Regions from separate parts of the Homo sapiens genome. Here region 1 is linked to region 2. The links are contacts of gene promoters, found by promoter capture Hi-C in human tissues and cell types (Jung and others, 2019). All regions are on one chromosome and are shown on one strand. Each heading gives the region's core, a stretch centred on a gene start or on the middle of the fragment in contact. The rest is flanking DNA. Distances are from core to core; before and after follow the strand shown.

Region 1 (5,479 bases), core at 2,379-4,878, 920 kb after region 2:
TCCTTCTCTCTCTCCCCTTCTCTTTCTCTTTCTCCCTCCTCCTCCCCTCTCTCTCTCACACACACCCCTCCTCCACTCCTCCTTTCCCTCTAAAGCTTTCATGAGTTATTTCACAAGGAACACAAGTTCAAAACAGAAAACATGCTCTTCCCTTTCTCTTGTTCCCTATAACGTTTTTGTCAATCACTTCTTATATGAACCTAAGCTTTCTTACCCGTGAAATTTGAAAATCTTGTTTTTTTGCACCACATATGTGCACAGGATGTGTAAATCTGGACTATAAAATATAAATAACTTTTACAGTTGGTTGATAACTTTCAGTATCAGGTAAATAACATGAATCCCAGGTGGTCATGCCTCCAAAAGTTCCCTGCATCTGCAGCCTCAGGCTGGCTGCGGCCCTGGCATTTCCACCTGTGTCCTTCCTAGTTCCTACTGGATCCCCGAAATCCCACTCCTCCCATTCGGGACCCTCATGGGATTCACTGGCCATTCTGGGTCTTCACAGGGGAAACTGAGAAAGGGGCCACAGCCTAAATCGAGTCTGTTCATTACAGCTTTATCCACAGAAGCAAAACACACCCACACTCCCAGGAAGGAGGCGGCAAAGGACAGCTGCCAACAGCGGAACAAGGAGGCTGGCCCAGCGCAGTGTCACCCATGAACCGATGGGGCCAACAGGTGCCTTGCCCCTCCTGGGAGGAGCGCCCACATCCTGTGCAGACTTTCCATCCAGACATCCCCCTGTGGCCCAGTCAACGCAGGGAGGGTCTTCGCTGTGCAGACCCCAGCAAGGCAGACACACGGCCTCCGTGGAGCCGGCTTCCCGTTCTCTGTGCACCTGGTACAGCCGGGTTTCCCTACGCACCAGGTACTGCAAGTCGCCTAGAGGCAGCTCTGCCTGTGCCAATGGGGAGTCAAGAACTAGCGAGGGAGACTAAAGGGTGCCTAACCGCCCCCAACCCTGAGGTTCTGAGATTTCATAGGTTCTCAATGCTGGGTGCTAAGAAGACAGGCACCAAAAAAGACCCTCCACGTTTAAAGGCCATTAGGATCCTGGATCCCAGGTACCAGAGTCAAATGCAGGAGCCAGAAAATCCCCGCTGACTGTGTCTTACACAGACCCCAGGCCCTACACTAAACAGGAACGCTTAGAAAGAGATGCCGGCAACCTGTAGTCCTGAAAGTGTCCCAGGTGACCAGCACCACCGGCCCCTCAGAGCAGCCTGGGCAAAGGCAGGCACTGGGGCCAGGCCTGGAACGTGGGGCAGGAGCCTTCCTCGTGGGAAGGTTGGGTGGGGTGGGACAAGCTCAGGACTGGCTGCTTTCAGTCCTAGTTACTGAGTGATTTCAGTGGGCTCTGGGGAATTGGGGCTGCCCCTAAGTGTCTGGTACCTGTCCTGGAGTGACCGTGGCAGGGGGACAGTGGCCACTGCAGTGTGAGCCATGTGAGTGCCCAGAGGAGGAGATGGTGGGGCGTGGGCTCCAGACTGTGGGTTTGCATGCGATAGGCACGTGCATAGGTGAGGTGATCACTATCAAGGAATTGGCCGACCCTGCAATGGGCCGTCCTTCCAGGCTCAGCAAAGTCAAAGACTCAGAAATAGAGAAAAGAGAAAGACCCGGTTACTGCACCCCAGGCCACACAGCTGGGGAGCAGCAGAGCTTGGGGAGCAGCGGAGCTAGGGCTGCCCGTGCTGTGGGCCCGTGCCTCCGACCCCCAGCGCCCCGCCTCCATCAGGAGATAGCCAGCCCTGGTGCTGCTCCCCTGCATTCTGAGCCATGAGCACCAAAGGACCCCTGAAGGTCACCAATGCCCCATGGACCTTGTCTTGAGAAGTGCCAAAAACATGCAACGGAGGAAAATTCAAAAGCTCCCACTGTGAGTATTTAGATAAGGAATGGCGGTCACTACAGCAGCCAGGGAGTTCCCTGAGAAAGAACAGCATAGCACCCTACCTCCCCGCACACGCTGCATGGAGGCTTTACAATGCCAGACAATCGGGAAAGGGCGGTGAGTGAAGGCACTATTTAGAAGTCGTTAACCCAAGAGACAAGAGTGTAATTAGAATCAGTTTCCATGAATATTAGGAGGGTACACTCAGAGTTAAATTGCTGTCTTCAGTACACATACATAATCCCAAAAACACTAATTCAGGGTCTCTGCAAGTGGTGTAGATGCTGCAAAGAAAAGAATGAGAGGAAGTCTAACAAAAATGTTATGGAATAAGCTCTCCATCTCTCCACTTTCCCTGGAGTTAAGAGCTTCCTGGGAACTCACACAACTGTAGATTTAACTCCATGTATCAGTGGAGAATTGTCCTGATACCGACTTTGACTGATAGCATCTATCTCTGATAAAGGGTGCACTTCAAGGTACAGTCAGCAGTTACACAGAGACAGAGGCAAGAGCCCTTTCTGCCCCATGAAACCAGGGTCACTGGGGGTAGACAAGCGGGACATCAACTGTTGCTTAAATTGTTGACTTTTCATTTGTGAGCTCAGGGGACAATATCCTCTCGTTTATCATTTGGTGGAATCCACGATGCATTTGTAAGTTGCATGCAGTCATTTGCTGCATCCCAGCGCCAGGCTGGTGGAAATGGGGGAATGGCAGCACGTGCCAGACACCCCAGGCCAGCGTCCGGGATGAAGCCTGCTCTCAGGGAGCATGGCTCCCTCCTGTGGGTCCCCCTCACCATATGGCAAAAGCTTCCTGGGCGGCTTCTTCCACACTCGCTGGAGGTTCTGCAAGGGAGGCTTTGCCCACATTGCGGTCACCATTGAAAGAAGGCCTCCAGGCACAAGTCTCATCAAAGGCTTCCATACACAAAGGTCTCCATTTTGCATCCTGTATTCCCCTCTTGAGAGGAAATCAAATTATTTCACCGTTTCTTGCATGTAGGTTCAAAGACTGGTGCCTGACATTCCAGAGCCTCCCTTGGTGCAACTCAGCTTCAGGCACGTGGTACCTCTTGGCACCAAAAATGAAGGAAGCCTCCACAGAAATGGGTGGAAGTGGAGATGTCGCAACACACTTAGGCACGACACTGCTGAGACAGGCACACAGTGACAGCGATAAAGGGAAAGACACCAACATAAAAGAGTGTATATGGCAGTGGCTCACCCAGAGCCCACCAGGAAGGAGGCGGCAAAGAACAGAACTGCCAACAGCCGAACAAGGAGGTGTCGGCCGTGCTGGGTCGTTTCTGTAACTCATTTAACAGCCTTTGCTACGCGTCAGAAACACCTCGGAGGGCCCTCAATAAATGCTTCCTGGATGAAGATGGCCTCCATGCAAAAGCTCAATCATGCAACTACATTTTTAAAACCCAGATGCATTTCAAAAAAATGAAATTTCAACACTGAACTACATGTGCTTCTGGTAATCATGTCTTGTTCCAAATACTGTGAAAGCATTGAAAAGTTTCAGCCTCAAACAAATAGTATTGAATGACCTTTGAGGATCAAAACATGAGTGCCTTTCTGCTCCACCATAATCTGTACAGGAGAAACTACAAGTTTCTGTACTGGATGTACAGTAATCTAAATATTTTGATGGGGTGGGGAAGGAAAGTGAAAGAAAAGTACCCTTTATTGAGTGCACCTGATACATCAGGCCCTGCTCTAGATGCATTAAATACATTGTCTCACTAAGGTTCTGCCTGAGGCATTTCTCTAGCGTTTTTTGGGGGAAATGGAAGAATATATTTTTATTGAAATATAATTGGCATACAATAAATGGCATTTACTTAAATTGTGTGATTTGAGGTTTGACATAAACATATGCCTACGAAACCATCACCACAATCAAGATAGCGAACACGTCCATCAGCCCAAGCTTCCTCATGCTCCTTCATCATCCTTCCCTCTCTCCCTCCCATAGGCCCCTGCCCTACTTTGTCACTGTAGATTAGTTTACATTTTCTAGAATTTTATATAAATGAAAGAATAAAGGATGCATCCTTTTGCCTGACTTTTGCTCAGCATGATTATTCTGAAATTCATCCATGTTGTTGTAAGTATCAATATTTATTCCTTTACATTCCTAAGTAGTATTCTATTGTACATGTATTAGTCTGCTTTGTGTTGCTATAAAGGAATACCTGAGGCTGGGTAATTTATAAAGAAAACAGGTGTAATTGGTTCACAGTACTGCAGGCTGCACAAGCTTGGCACCAGCATCTTCCCGGCTTCTTGAGGAAGTCTTAGGAAGCTTCCAATCATGGCAGAAGGCAAAGAGGGAACAGGTGTGTCACATGGCAAAAGAAGGAGCATGAGAGACGGGGGAGGAGGTGACAGACTCCTTTTAACAGCCAGCTCTCCTGTGAACTAATAGAGTGAGAACTCACTCATTACCATGGGAAGGGCATCAAGCCACTCATAAGTGATCCACAACCATGACCCGAACACTTCCCAGTAGGACCCACCTCCAACATTGAAGATTACATTTCAACATGAGGGGTGCTTGAATTGTTTCACTTTGGGCTATTACAAATACTGAGCATTTGGCTGGGTGTGGTTGCCCACATCTGTAATCCCAGCACTTTGGGAGACCAAGGTGGGTAGATCACCTGAGGACAGGAGTTCAAGACCAGCCTGGTCAACATGGTGAAACCCCCACCTCTACTAAAAATATAAAAATTAACCAGGCGTGGTGGTGGGCACCTGTAATCTCAGCTACTCAGGAGGCTGAGGCAGGAGAATTGCTTGAACCCAGGGGGTAGAAGTTGCAGTGAGCAGAGATCATGCCATTGCACTCCAGCCTGGGTGACAAGAGTGAAACTCCATCACAAAAAAAGAAAAAAAATGCTAAGCATCCATGTACAAGTCTTTGTTTGGACATACAAGGTTTTTTTTGTTGTTGTTGTTTTGTTTTTGAGTAAATACCCATAGGTGGAATGGCAACCTTATGGTAGGTGTATGTCTAACCACTTAGGAAACCACCAGCTCCTCATCTGCATATCTTCTTTAAGAGTCCCTTTGATAGTCTAAATACATGTTCTTTATTAGACACATGGTTTTCTCCTAGTCTGTGCCCTGACTTTTCATTCTCCAAAAAACATCTTTTGAAAAACTGATGATCTTAATTTTTATGAAGCCTAATTTGTCAATTATTTTCTTTTATAATTGTGTTTTTTATAATATGCCTGAGAAATCTTACCTAATCCAAGGTCATAAAGATTTTATCTTGTGTTTACTTCTTGAAGTTTTATAGTTTTAGGTTTTACATTTATAAGTGCAATCTATTTTGAGTTCACCTTTGCTTGTGGTGTGAGGTATGAATTAAAGTTCCCTTTTGTAAATGGATACCCAATTTTTCTGGAATGATTTATTGAAAAGACTATTCTTTCTCTACTCCATTGCCTTTGTATCTTTATCAAAAATCAATTATCCATATATGTGTGATTCTATGTATGTGCTCTCTACTCTCTTCCTTTAATTGTCTGTCTCTCTCTGTACACCAAAATCACATTGT
Region 2 (5,472 bases), core at 673-3,172:
AAACTCCACCTTACTTTCTACTTTGTTATCTACCTGTAAACTGGACTGGATCCTGAAGCCTTTTAGAGTCCTTCAATGTTCCCAGGCTAACATTTCCAGTCTTTCTTCTGCCCTCCTGACTGGGTGTTAGTGAGAACTAAAGCCTGACAACTCAGGCCTTCCGTGGGACCATCTGGAAAGGCTGAAGCTGGACACATCCACGCTCTGCCCCCAGCATAACCATGACTGTGGCTCTGATGGTCATGATGTCACCAAGGACACACCCCCTGCAAACTAGGAAATCCATCCTTGCCCCATCGGCTGAAGATACCTTGAGCCCAAAATCCAGAAATCTTCTCAACAGACTGCCCTCTGGATTCGGAAACTGTGTTTCCAACTATAAATCTTTGTTTTTCTTCTCTTTTTCGTAGACATTCCCCTCATTAAATTCCCGACTACTTGTACCATCCAGCACACATCCTCCACCAGATGAAACATGGACTTATCTTGTTCAAAGAGAAAAGGAATGTCTCTTCTTTCTTGAACAAGAGGAGGGAATGAGAAAGCCTCGCTCCTTGACTTACCTCATGCCAGGCTCCTCTGAGTCTTCTCTTTGACTAGGCCTTGACCCTAGCTTCTGCTTTTGTCTGCTTTTCCCCATGTTTAGTAGGAATCCTGTGAAGTCTTTTAGTGGAAATCCCCTAGTCTTGGCCTGGTCACCCTTGATATCTGATCAAATTCCTCACCCTCCATCTTTGATTATTTTATTGCCTTGGCTTCCTTTCAGGTCTGGCCTCCTGTTTGGCCGAACACAATATACACAATAATTGAACTAGAGGGTGAATACATGGAGGTTCATGATATTCTTCCAAGTTAGAAATTTTCCATAATAAAAAGTTAAAATAAGTAACATATGCAACTCTCTCATGGATGTCTAGATTTTAAAAGGTCTTCAAAGATAGCAGACCTTTGTGTCCTGTTGCAAGGATAATCAATTTTTATTAAACTTATGCAAACAATTGTATGGTCCTGAAAATCATAATATCCAAATTCTAGAGTAATCAGGTGGGACAAAAAATATAAATGCTTCATTTTTGTTTATAAAAGCCCTCTTGGCCTTTGCTGAATCAGTTTAGCAAAGAATTCTCCTACCTTTTAGCAATGTTCATCCACTGACCCACCCTGATCCTTGGCTGCAAATCTCCACTTTCCCTGTATTTGGAGTTGAGCCCACTCTCCACTATTATGAGACACCATGGTAGTAGCCCCCTTTGAATAAAGGCTGCCTGCCCATCTTTAGCAAGCATCACAAATATTTTTTAACGGTATGAGCTGAGATAAAGGCTTTTGGTAATTATGTTAGTCTGATTATGACATTGTAGATAATGCTTTTATCTCTTCGCAAGAAAATGTTTTACATGAGGTGGTAAGGCATCTGGGATGGTGCTAAAATACTCCCCAAACAAGAAAAGTGTGTGTATGTGGTGTGGAGTGTGTATGTGTGTGTGTGTAGAAAAAAACAAAATATGCACAATAATTGAACCTGAGGGTGAATACACGAAGGTTCATGATATTCTTCCCAGTTAGAAATTTTCCATAATAAAAAGTTAAAATAAGTAACATTTGCAACTTTCCTATGGACATCTAGATTTTAAAAAGTCTTCAAAGATAGAAAGACTTTTCAGCTACATTCATTCCCCAAGGAATAAATGGTAAATTCATGTAGGTTGGGAATAAGAGGAACCCATGGGAGAAGAGGCCGCCGCTCCCCACCTGGTTCAGTTCTCTTTCTGCTGAGACATCCCTGTGGGGCCCTACCTGGAATCACGGTTCTCGGCCGGAGCTCAGTTTCTTGCCAACAGCACAGCAGGAGGACAAAGCAGAGGGTCCCGTCTCCTTGGCTCACTGCCATGCTCCCTCCAGCTGAGGGAGAAGGACGTTCTGAAGGTTGACAGTTTCCCATCCTTGGTCTCCAGGACACTGTGGAATGTCAGGACCTGTGACATCACAACCAGGAAGGGAGCTGGGGTCCTGCCCTGGTGGGGAGGTCATGTCCAGGGACCTGTGACATCAGGACCAGGAAGGGAGCTGGCATCTTGCCAGGGGCGGGGGGCAGGGTTTCTGTCCAGAGTCTGTGACTGGGAAGCAGGGAGGAGGCTCACTGGGGTCTTAAGGTAACAGAGATCCTCTCCACTCTTTCTTATTGCCTGTTCTGGTGACTTCCTCTGTCCTGAGCACCCTGAGGACTCAAGGGGTAGATACTAATCAGGACTTAAGGGCCAGTGGCCAAAAGCCAACAAAATCTGCTCCCATGGAAAGAGGCGTATTTGAAGGATGCTGGAGAGGTGGTTGAATTACAGAGCAAGTGCCAGAACCGACAGATCCAGAGGGTCTAATCACCTCTTAAAGGTCCCTTGAAGAACAGAGCCTTGAAGAACAGAGGCCCGTGGCCCCATGTCCCCTCCCACCCTCCCCCACCCTCAAAGTTCCAGGATCATGAAGAACAGGAGACAGATGACCCAGGTTTCAGCCTCCTTTCCCCCACACCTTCTTTCTCAGCATCAGCCCCAATCTTTCCCTGGCAGTGAGACTTTAATCACGAGAGGAGAACATGGCTGCATTTCCATGTTATCATCCTCCCAGCTCTATCTCCTAGACTTTCTAGAGCTTTCTCCATCCGTGCAGTGACAAAACCCCAAAGGAGTCACTCTGGTTGGCTCCCCTGGATCCTATCTCACCCCTGGACTGACTCCTACATCCAGGGCTCAGAGTGGGGCAGCTGGTCTAGACTCGGCCGGTGGTGGGGTCCCAGGTGAACAGCCCTCAGATCCCAGCTCCATGGTGGAGAGGGCTGGTGTGTTTGTCTGTTCCCACACTGCTATATAGAACTTCCCTGAGACTGGGTAATTTATAAAGAAAAGAGATTTAATTGACTCACAGTTCTGCATGGCTGGGGAGGCCTCAGGAAACTTACAATCATGACGGAAGGGGAAGCAGGCACCTTCTTCACAAGGCGGCAGGAGAGAGAGTACATGAAGGAGGAGCTGTTAAACACTTATAAAACCATCAGCTCTAGTGAGAACTCACTTATCATGAGAACAGCATGCAGGAATCCACTCCCATGATCAGATCGCCTCCCACCAAGTCCCTCCCTCAACACGTGGGATTATGAGGATTATAATTCAAGATGATGCTTGGGTGAGGACACAGAGCCAAACCATATCACTGGGGCCCTGGACGCACAAGACTAACAATGCCCCCGAGGTCTGGTCAGGACCCCAAGGATGGCTGACCCACCATGGGTCTCTGGCTCTTTAATTTTTATTGCTTGTATGGGAACCCACAGCACATTTTTGCTCAGGTTTTCCTTTTGATAGATGCAGTGGTAGCCAATCTACCTCAAGGTGTGGGGAGTATATTTCAGATTTTCAGCGTGTCCATAAAGGCACACTAAGCATGGTTGACATTTACAGAAACCCAGTGGGTTCCAAGTCCCACTCTGAGTTAATGAATGGTCCAAGTGAGATGCTTGCTTCTATAACCCAGGCTCTTGCTACTCAGAATGTCATTTTGGGGCCAGCAGCATGGGCCTAAGAGGCTGAATGTACAAACGGACAGCAGCCAGAGCTCCCATGACAGCAGAACCCTGCACTGCTGCCTGTCGAACGACACCCACTGCACCAAGGAGGGATGTCTGGCTAAGGCAGGCCAGGGACTTCCACCTCAAGGCGGAGGATGAGGAATTTGATCAGGGCTGGGGGCGAGGCCTCGTTGAGAAGAGGGGTCAGAGGAGCCTCGCTGATTTGGTCGAGGAAGGAGTCATTCTCAAGGCTGCCCGAAGCTCGGTGACTTGATACAGCCCATGTGTGATTGCTTACAACTTTGTGGGTTGGCTCTGGGGGCTGCTGGCCTAGTGTGGCCTCATGGACATGTCTGAGGCCTTAGCTAGGATGCTGGGGCTTGGGATGGCTGAGGCTTCCCTCCATGTGGTCTCTCGGCCTCTAGCAGGCAGCCTGGGCTTGGTCACAGCAGAAAGGAGAGTAAGCCTCGATGCAAACAAGCCTTTTCTTGCACCACATTTGCTAATGTCTCATCGGCCAAATGAGTCAAACTAATCCCAGATGCAGGAGTGGAGGAACAGATTTGAGCACTAAAATATGGTAGTCAGAGGCCGGGCGCGGTAGCTCACGCCTGTAATCCCAGCACTTTGGGAGGCCGAGGTGGGCGGATCACGAGGTCAGGAGATCAAGACCATCCTGGCTAACACGGTGAAACCCCGTCTCTACTAAAAATACAAAAAAATTAACTGGGTGGGCACCTGTAGTCCCAGCTACTCGGGAGGCTGAGGCAGGAGAATGGCATGAACCTGGGAGGCGGAGCTTGCAGTGAGCGGAGATCGCGCCACTGCACTCCAGCCTGGGTGACAGAGCAAGACTCTGTCTAAAAAATATATATGGTAGTCAGACTGGCTTAGTTCACAGAGCTCTGCCCCCCGCGTTTCATAGATTTGCTTAGCTAATTGGAAAGAAGAGGTTAGAGTGTCTGGTATGTGTTTTTAATCAGTTGCTTTATGAGATTCTAGTTTGAAGAATCTCTCACCAACCCTTGGGAGGTTGATGGCAAATTTATTTTTCTTATTCTTTGCTGTCTTTTAGCAACAATTTTACACATAATTCCCTTTGCATTTGTATTTGCATGCAACATTAAAACCAGAAGGGAATTTAACAAATTAATCTATTTATACCAGTTTCTTTGAATGGGGACTTTAATTCATTTGCATAACTGTCATAGCAGCAGCATATGACTCCTAGAAGTTTTTTCTCCATGGTTGCATTTCAGTTGAGAGATTGTTTCTGTCATATACCAATAGAGATTTGTTTCCTGCATCTTCCAGGGGAAAGAGGAAAGAACTCTTTATGGCTCTTTTAAAATAAACAGGCTTTCCTTATTTTTTTAATTTTTGGAAATGTAAAAATTTTAAAAATTAAAAGAAAAATGCAAGGCTAGGTCCAGTGGCTCACACCTGTTATCCCAGCACTTTGTGAGGCTGAGGTGGGTGGATCGCTTGAGCCTAGGAGTTTGAAACCAGCCTGGGCAACAGAGCAAAACGTCATCTCTACAAAGAATACAAAAATTAGCCAGGCATGGTGGTAAATGTCTGCAGTCCCATCTACTTGGAAGGCTAAGGTAGGAGCATCACCTGACCTTGGGGAGGCAGAGGCTGTAGTGAGCCGTGATTGTGTCACTGCATTCTAGACTGGGTAGCAGATCGAGACTCCATCTCAAAAAAAAAAAAAAAAAAAAAAACTGGGTGCGGTGGCTCACACCTGTAATCCCAGCACTTTAGGAGGCCGAGGCGGGTGGATCACCTGAGGTCAGGAGTTCGAGACCAGCCTGACCAATAAGGTGAAACCCTGTATCTACTAAAAATACGAAAATTAGCTGGGTGTGGTGGCATGCACCTGTAGTCTCAGCTACTTAGAAGGCCGAGGT

Evidence for each region. The method cuts DNA at HindIII sites, captures the fragments that hold promoters and counts their contacts. A contact is called where the count stands out against the background at its distance.
Region 1: a fragment that was not itself captured here is called in contact with the fragment with the promoter of SPACA7 in region 2 in 1 of the 25 tissues and cell types used here (dorsolateral prefrontal cortex).

The regions. Positions count from the first base shown.
Region 1 is chr13:111,454,195-111,459,673 of GRCh38, reverse strand. No RefSeq gene overlaps it. Among named protein-coding and RNA genes, the nearest start is that of TEX29, 140 kb to the right of the region's middle. The HindIII fragment of the contact is 4,337 bases long and covers 1,460-5,479 here.
Region 2 is chr13:112,372,805-112,378,276 of GRCh38, reverse strand. It overlaps SPACA7 (sperm acrosome associated 7), which reads right to left and starts at 1,922. Exons shown (of 7, transcript NM_145248.5): 1 at 1,798-1,922. The coding sequence starts at 1,891. LOC105370373 (a long non-coding RNA gene) reads left to right here and starts at 1,999. Exons shown (of 3, transcript XR_944295.3): 1 at 1,999-2,153. RefSeq lists an enhancer at 1-470. The HindIII fragment of the contact is 14,702 bases long and covers 1-5,472 here.